Linked DNA regions of Homo sapiens: region 2 is linked to region 1. The links are contacts of gene promoters, found by promoter capture Hi-C in human tissues and cell types (Jung and others, 2019). All regions are on one chromosome and are shown on one strand. Each heading gives the region's core, a stretch centred on a gene start or on the middle of the fragment in contact. The rest is flanking DNA. Distances are from core to core; before and after follow the strand shown. Region 1 overlaps ANKMY1 (ankyrin repeat and MYND domain containing 1). Region 2 holds the start of RNPEPL1 (arginyl aminopeptidase like 1).

The links. Contacts are between HindIII fragments. The study calls those that stand out against the background at their distance.
Region 2: a contact is called between the fragment with the promoter of RNPEPL1 here and a fragment that was not itself captured in region 1, in 2 of the 25 tissues and cell types used here (H1 embryonic stem cells and liver).

Annotation. Positions count from the first base shown.
Region 1 is chr2:240,518,060-240,522,058 of GRCh38, reverse strand. It overlaps ANKMY1 (ankyrin repeat and MYND domain containing 1), which reads left to right. Exons shown (of 18, transcript NM_001282771.3): 9 at 1,526-1,697. Among named protein-coding and RNA genes, the nearest start is that of ANKMY1, 38 kb to the left of the region's middle. The HindIII fragment of the contact is 6,500 bases long and covers 1-3,999 here.
Region 2 is chr2:240,566,229-240,570,227 of GRCh38, reverse strand. It overlaps RNPEPL1 (arginyl aminopeptidase like 1), which reads right to left and starts at 1,744. Exons shown (of 11, transcript NM_018226.6): 1 at 1,114-1,744. The coding sequence starts at 1,641. RefSeq lists enhancers at 20-658, 608-787, 659-1,297 and silencers at 1,058-1,107, 1,348-1,537, 1,678-1,737, 1,768-2,027, 3,538-3,777. The HindIII fragment of the contact is 6,553 bases long and covers 1-3,999 here.

The DNA of each region.
Region 1 (3,999 bases), core at 571-3,070:
GAATAAAAGCTGGCCACCGCCAGGCTCCCCACCAGCCTGCAGCGACAACCTGCTTAGTTTCCTTTCTGTGCTGTGGAAGCTTTGTTCTTTCAGTCTTCACAATAAATCTTGCTGCTGCTCACTTTTTGGTCCGCATCACCTTTAAGAGATGTTAACACTTGCCAGTGAAGGTCCACAGCTTCATTCTTGAAGTCAGTGAGACCATGAACTCACCGGAAGGAAGAAATTCCAGACACACCATGTTTAAGAGCTGTAAAGGGGGGCCAGGCGCAGTGGCTCACTCCTGTAATCCCAGCACTTTGGGAGGCCGAGGCAGGTGGATCACGAGGTCAGGAGATGGAGACCATCCTGGCTAACACGGTGAAACCCCGTCTCTACTAAAAATACAAAAAATTAGCCAGGCGTGGTGGCGGGTGCCTGTAGTCCCGGCTACTTGGGAGGCTGAGGCAGGAGAATAACTTGAACCTGGGAGGCGGAGCTTGCAGTGAGTGGCATCGCGCCACTGCACTCCAGCCTGGGCGACAGGGCGAGACTGTCTCAAAAAAAAAAAAAAAAAAAAAAAAAAAAGCTGTAACACCGCGAGTTCCGCGACTTCATTCTTGAAGTCAGCGAGACCAACAACCCACCAGAAAGGCATAGATCCTGGACATGTTTTGACAGTTTTTGAGCTTTACATGGTAGCGGCAGACAAGGAGAGCCAGCACCCACGTCAACGCAGCTCCCTGGGCTTCCGAGTGGTCAGGGTCTGGAGACGGGTCTGGAGACTGGGCTGGAGGCTGCTGCTCAAGTGCTCAAGGACGATCTAGTTCCCGCGGCTCCGATTCTGTGCCTACTGCAGGGCCAGTGGGCTTGGCTCGATCCTACACCTGCCCTGCCCTCATGGTCATTCCCGCTGCCATCTGGGCCCCCTACCCCCAGTCCCCTCCTCCCTCAGCCCTGCGCGGCTGCACAACCCCCACCCACCTGGTCCCAGCCTCTCTTGAGGCCCAAGTTTTCTCTGGAGGCACAGTTTACTCCTGACCTGGCCAGCCTTTCAGTGACCCCTCAGAGGTGTGTGTGCGCCTGTGTGTTTGTGTCTTTGTGGTGTGAGTGGTGTGTGTGGTGTGTGTGTGGTTTGTGTGGTTGTGTGCTGTATGTGTAGTGTGGTTTGTGTGCTCTGGTGTGTGGTGTGCCGTGTGCGTACTGTGTGGTGTGCGCTGTGCTATGGTGTGTGCGCTCTGGTGTGGCTTGTGTGTGGGGTTGTGTGCTGTGTGTACTGTGTGGTGTGCTGTGGGTGTGGTTGTGAGTGTGCTGTGTGGTGTGCTGTGTGTGCCGTGTGTGTGCGCTCTGGTGTGGCTTGTGTGTAGTTGTGTGCTGTGTGGTGTGTCTGCGTGTGTGGGTGTGTGCTGTGTGTGTGATTGTGTAGTTGCGGCACACACATACTCCCTACGCGCCCCTCCCCAGCCTCCTCGCTGGCATGGCCCCGTTCTGGGCGCAGTGCAGGTGCCTGCCCTCCAGGGGCCCACGGGCGCACCGTCTTTTTCAGGCGGAGGAAGCGCTGGCGGACCATCAAGCTGCTGCTGCGCCGGGGCGCGGACCCCAACCTGTGCTGCGTGCCCATGCAGGTCCTGTTCCTTGCTGTGAAGGCCGGGGACGTGGATGGGGTGAGGCTGCTGCTGGAGCACGGGGCGAGGACCGACATCTGCTTTCCGCCGCAGGTAGGAGCCGCGGCGGGCGGGCGCCGGGACGAGCGCAGCAGACTCCCGGGCACTGGCCGGGAAGCTCCTCGCTCCACCTAGGCGCGGAAGAGAGGGGTGGGCTCTTGCAGGCGACCACCTGGGCTGTGAGTGATGACGGCGCGCCGCAGTGGGGGGTCCCACAGCCCGCTCTTTCACCCATGTCCCCAGACAGGATTTGGACACCGAGCTAGTTTTTAGAGTACTTCACGATCCGTGTGATTTTTTTCCCAGTGTTGAAGCAAACTAAGGGGAAGCGCATCCTGAAGGCCCCTTGGAAAGGGGAGACTTATATTCAGGAGGAGGCGGGCCTCCTTTCAACCCACGCTCAGCATCACAAGGACGCAGGCAGGAGAGGCAAAGGGTTTTGGTGCTGAGGTTTTATCTTTAGCTCAACAGATCCAGCCGCAAAATATTTAGCTGAGAAAAAATCTTCGAAGGGGAATCTGATTTTATATTTTTTTTCTTAAGAAGTGCCTTTCCCAGCGGACGGCTTCTTCCCTCTCTGAGGCCACACCCACCCGTGAGCAAGCGGCTTCACAGGGCATTTTGCTCTGGAATAAATTAGCCTGCTAGTTCTTCGAAGAAAGTTTAGTGTTTCTGCTGAGTTTCACTGGGGACTCAGGGCTTTATGGGCTTAGCTCGTTCAAACAACTCTCCTTTTCCCACCTGTCCCCCTGGGCAGTGTGTACCCCCGTGCTTGGCCCCAGATTCCTGCAGCCCTTCCCACAGCACAGCTGCTGGAAGGGCTTCCTTCCCGAATTTCCACTGCTCTGGAATGGAATCGGTCGCTGCCCATGACTGCTCCTCCTCTCAGAGGCGTCTGGGGTGAGGCCAGGCTTCTCTCGCAGCTCCGTCAGTCCATGAGGGCCTCGTTAGGTTCACAGGGGATGGGGCGAGATGGAAGTATGACAGCAAGCGTGGGCTCACTGCGGCGTTTCCTGTTCACTTTAACGTGACGTTATCTGTTGTATTTCATCCCTTTGCCTGAACCCTTGTTGTCATTCTTTCTCTTTGTATTTTGAAGGACCCTACAATCATTTCTCTAATTTAACATCTAGACCAACCCCATCACAATTTTCCGTTCAGTGCATCCACCCATCCACACTCAAGAAACCACTGCTGTCCACAGTGGCTGTGAAGATTCCAGATGGGTGACGAACTGGCACCAGGGCCACCTTTGGGTGCCCCCAGAACAGGGGGCCCATTATGCAGACCCATGATGGGCTTCTGTCCACTTGGCTGTGAAATTTATTTGTAGATTTTGTTTTTCTTCTCCGGTTGTGTAAACACTCGTCCATCGTTTCAGCACTTTACCTTCTTCACAGGGTGTTGATGGGGTGAGAGCTGATGGCTCTCTCTGGGCACCAGCCTTGCCAGTTGTCACTCAGGCGGCATTGAGTGTTTGAGGGCAGGCGGGTCTCACTGTCCAGGCCCCTTAGTGCACAGCCTTTCAGCTTGGAAATTAAACTTTTCTTCCAAGTGTAAGATTACACAGAAAACAGAATTTTTGGTTTAAGACTCAGGATAATTTCATACCTTTTTAGGTTTACTGATTGGACTCCGTCTTTGAAACTGATTAAGGTCACAACCTTTAAACTGGGCACGGACATCCTTCACTGTGTCACATGTTTATTCACCTGTTCATAGCTGATCAGGAATGTATTATTTACACATTTATCTTTCAAATAGAAAGTTTTTAAAAATTAAAATATTTGAGTGGGTTCAGAAATGAACATGTCACCAAAACGCCAGGGGTTCGGTCTAGATCCTGCTGCTTACTGCACAGAAAGCCAATCAGTGAGATGACAGGTACTGCCAGAGAAGAAGGCTTTAATTGGGTGCTGCACCAGGGAGAGCAGGAGATTGTTCTCAAACCCTGTCCTCAACCGACTAAAATTGGGGGTTTCATAGCAGGGAAGAAATATAACCACGTGTGGGAAAGCAGGAATTAGGAGGGCTAAGAAAAAAGAGTTGGTCAGCAAGAAGCTGGTGGTCCCAGAGGCAGGCATGATGGGTGAGGGGTCTAGGGTCTCACTGTCCAGATGCTGTGATCTAGTGAGTCTCTGTTCCTTGATACTATTTAGGAGGACTGCTGGTTGGTTTCCTGAGGAAGGAGCTCAGATAAGACAAATGTAACGTTCCCAAGTTTTAAAGAATGGAAGGGTCAATTTCTATGTTTATTTAAAAGAAACCATAGACATCAGTTCTATGGGACAATTGGGCCCGTTTCAACACCCTTCCCCCCCATTCGTCAATTCCTCAATCATGAGGAATCAGGCCA
Region 2 (3,999 bases), core at 495-2,994, 48 kb before region 1:
GGCCACTCTGCAGGCCAGTGTTGGGCGGACCAGACACGTGGGCTCCAAACACGGATCAAGGCCAAGGAGAAGCCCATCCCTCAGTTCTCACCTGTCATACTGGGAGGCATACTTGCCACCGGTCAGAGCCCTGGAATACCACAGCAGGGGCGGGGCCGGCTAGCCAGCGGCCTGCACACCCACAGGGGTTCTGGGAAAAAGGTGAGGTGGCAGGTCCTGCTTAGGGCTCCTGGGAAATGTACAGGAAGCCCATAGGGGTGCACTGGTCTGGGTTCTTCCTGCCCAGATGTCACCTTGGCTCTTTGTGGCCTGAAGCCTCTCGACCACCTCTCCACCACCCTGTCCATTTATGTGCCGTGACCAGTGACAGCTGGACTTCCCAGCGCCTCCACAGCTGTGTGTGTCTTGCATATGTCGGGTGTCACATGTGTGCCGTCCATACCACCTAGGGATGCAGTATGAACCCCCATGCTGTAGGCAGGAAAGGCCCTGCTCCATCCTGTACACATCCCCACTGGTGGAGGTGGAGGGGGTGCTGCAGCCACAGCGCCAGCCTCAGCCACCTGGCCTTTCTTGCAGAGTCTCTGGAGTGGTGGGTACCCAGTGTGCAAGCCCTGCAGAGCCTATGTGTGTCTATGTTGGGGTCGCGGGGCCCACTGGTCTCAACACTCCACCAGTGCTGGCCAAGGAAGCCCCAAACCGAGCATCACAATCTCCATGGCCCTTTCCTCTGCCTCTGGCTTGGACTCATCTGCACGCACTGGTCACATGGAGGCCCTTCCGCAGCTGACACTCCAGCCCAACCCTTGGTGCCAGGATCCTGCAGATGTACACCTCGGTGGGTGACAGAAGCTGCTCATGTCCCCAGGCAGGGACCAGACACCTGAACGGGAGGCTTCCCGGAGTGACATGCTGTCCCGTGTCCCCGCAGGACTCCGGCTTCTATCCGAGGGTCCTAAGGGCTCACAGGCAACAGCTGGGAATCACCGGGGTGGGGGGAGGGGGGCACCTGTAGGGCGCAGATTCGCGTCCCTCAGCCTGGCCGTGCGGCGAGAGGCCGCTAGCAGCGCCCTGCGGACCGGCCCGCAGCCCCGGCGCCCGCCCCGGACTCACGGCGGGGGCGTCGGTCGAGGTGTACCGCAGGATGACCTGGAAGGGCTGGTGCGCCTGCAGCTCGGGCGGCAGCGTGACGGTGAGCGAGGAGCCGTAGTCGGTGAACGGGTCCACCCTGAAGGCCAGCGGACAGCAGGCGGGCTCGGAGCCGGGCGCCTCGGGGAAGGCGGGCAGCGGGGGCGGCGGCGCGGGCCCCGGCCCGGGGGCGGAGAAGGCGAAGGCGCAGGGCGTCTCGGCGGCGGCGGCGGGGGCGCGACGGAAGGCGGCTGAGTGCAGGCGCAGAGCCGGGTGCGCGTCGAGCACGAGCGCGCGGGGCGCGGGCCGCAGCGCGCACAGCTCGAGCACCAGGCAGCCGGCCAACTCGCGCGCCTCGGGCCGCAGCTCCAGGCCCAGCTGCAGGTGGCGGAGGCGGAAGAGCTGCGCGCTGGAGGCCGAGGCCACGTCCAGGGCGGGCGGCGGCTCGGGCGGCGGGCGGACGGGCGCGGCCTCGGCGCCGGGCGCCTGGCGGCAGCAGCACTGCGCGGCCATGGCCGCCGGCACTAGGTGAAATCCATGGGCGGCGGCCGCGCCGGGCCGCGGGCGAGGGGCGCCGGGCGGCGGCGGCGGCGGGGCGCGGGCACAACAGGAAGTCGCGCCGGGAGCCGCCCGGCCCGGCCCCGCGCCGTGCGCCGCCCCGCTCGGGCTCCGCTCGGCCGCCGCCGGGGGCGCTGTGCGCGGGGCCGGGGCGCGGGGCCGGGGCGCCGGGCGGGGAGGGCCAGGAGCCAGGGGCGCGGGGAGCCGGGGAATCGAGCGCGGCGCGGGGCCGGGGCGCTGTGTTGGGAGCCGAGGCGCGCGGAGCGGGTGAGCAGCACCCCCAGCCCCTCGCTTCCTCCCCGGGCGGCGCCCGGGAGATCCCAGGAGGCGGGATCGCTGCTCCCTCCCAGACACTGCCGGCCAGGCCCCTGGGGCAGCCGCTGAAGGGACCCGGGAACCTTGGGGCCACAGGGGCAGGCTGCTTCCAGGTGTGGTTCGTGTTCCCGAGGAGCGCAGCGTCGCGAACTCAATGTCATCCTTTCATCCGGGGCTACGGGCAGGGCAGGATTCTCCTGGCACCCCTGCCACTCCTCCAAGTCTACAGGTGTGGTCTGTGCTGTGGGCCCTGCGGTGCGAGAAGCGCCGGAGCCTTCACGCAGCGCTGTCAACTACAGCAGCCACCAACCACGTGTGGCCATTTAGATGCGAATTAAATACAGTTAGAAGTTCAGTTCCTTCGTGGCAGGTGGAGTGAGTGAGTGTGTGTGTCTTCCTGGGAGGAGTGGCTAATGGACAAAGCAGGCAGGAATCATTTCCACAATCGCAGAAGTTCCTCTGGGCAGTGCTGGGGACCTCTCATTTGGGAGCCCTGTGCTGGGGTACGAAGGAGGGTCTGGCCCGCCTGTCCCCACCCCATCCGCCAGGTCCACCCTTCCCAACGCCATTCTCTGTGGACCTGGCGAAGGCTGCCCAAGGCTGAGCCTGTCCAGGAGCCTGAGCCCCGAGGGAAGGGGTGCTCGCCTGGCAGAAGCTGCTAGTGAGCTCACAGCGGTTAAATTTTGAGGCTGTGGAATAACAGGGGCCACCATGATGTCGCTGTTGTCATCAAGTAAGAATTCAAATTCCTAGGGACAAGGGGCTTCTGGGGCTGGGGAACTATCCAGGAACCCAGGACACCTCTCTCTTCTGCTCCATTGAGGTGTGGCCGTGCAGGGCTGGACTCGGGTACCGCACTCGACTCAGCGTCAGCCCTGAGTAGTGTTTCCTGTGTCTGGACTCAGTCTCCTCGTTGTGTAACCCTCTGTGTCTACCCTCCTTCCGTGGGGCGGGAAGGAAGGCTGAGAGGGAGAGTGTGCGTTCACGTTTGCGGGACAGAGCACTGAGGCATCATTTCAGTTTTCCCGTAGGACCTCAGGTCCCCACGTGCCCTCTTTAGGGACACGGCCACGATCTTGGGGCACCCATCCCAAACTCACCAGGAACCCCTAGGCTTACACAGTCACTCAGAGGTGTGGATCAGCCTCGCATCCAAGGCTGACAGGGAAGACAGCTGAGATGGGACCCTCCTCACTGCCCCCAGCGCCCTGCCCGGTGGGGCCCTGCAGTGCCAAGGGCAGACTGTTTTCGATGGCACCCCCAGTTCTACGGGGCTCTCCAGAGCCCACCGGGCCATGTTCCTGGCTGGAAGAACCTCAGTTCTGCACACGCGGTGCCACACTAGCTGGGCCTGGCCGTCCGGGGGGCAAGTCACCACAGGGAGCTTGGGGTCTTGCCACCCAGAGCCCCGCATTGGGCTCAGGGAGCAGAGGTTGGGGTCTCGCCCTGGGCACCTCTCCGCGGCCAGTTCTGCACACAGGAGTCCAGAGTTGCTGTGGCACCTCCTCCCCGGGGGCCCAAGGGAGCGCCTCCCACCGCGCACGTATGTGAGGAGCTGCCCTACTGCACCCCATGGAGCGGGAGGCGCGGCTGAGCCGAGGGGGCGGGGTCTGCAACTGAGCCGCGGGAGCCTCTCGCGCCGGCCCCGCCCCGCCCCGCCCCGCCCGAGGAGGCCCCGCCCCCGCCGGCCTGACGCCCCCTGGCGGCGGGAGGCTACGCCGCATGCAGGCCTGGGCAGACACCTCTGACTTCTCTAACCCTGGCAGAGGAGCCTGGACGTCGCGACTGTCAGCCCTGGCTTTCTCCCACAGGAGTTTTCATACTCCAGCTTTTTGGTGATCAGCGCAGTGAAGTGGCTGCGCGGCATCTGCACCCCAGCCTTCCCCTGATGCACCCGAGGGAGGGGTTCCTGGCTTCACCCACTAGGAGGTGGGTGTGGGCATGGAGCGTTTTAGCAGGCTGGGGAGGGCAGCAAAGCTTCCAGGAAGAAGCAGTGTT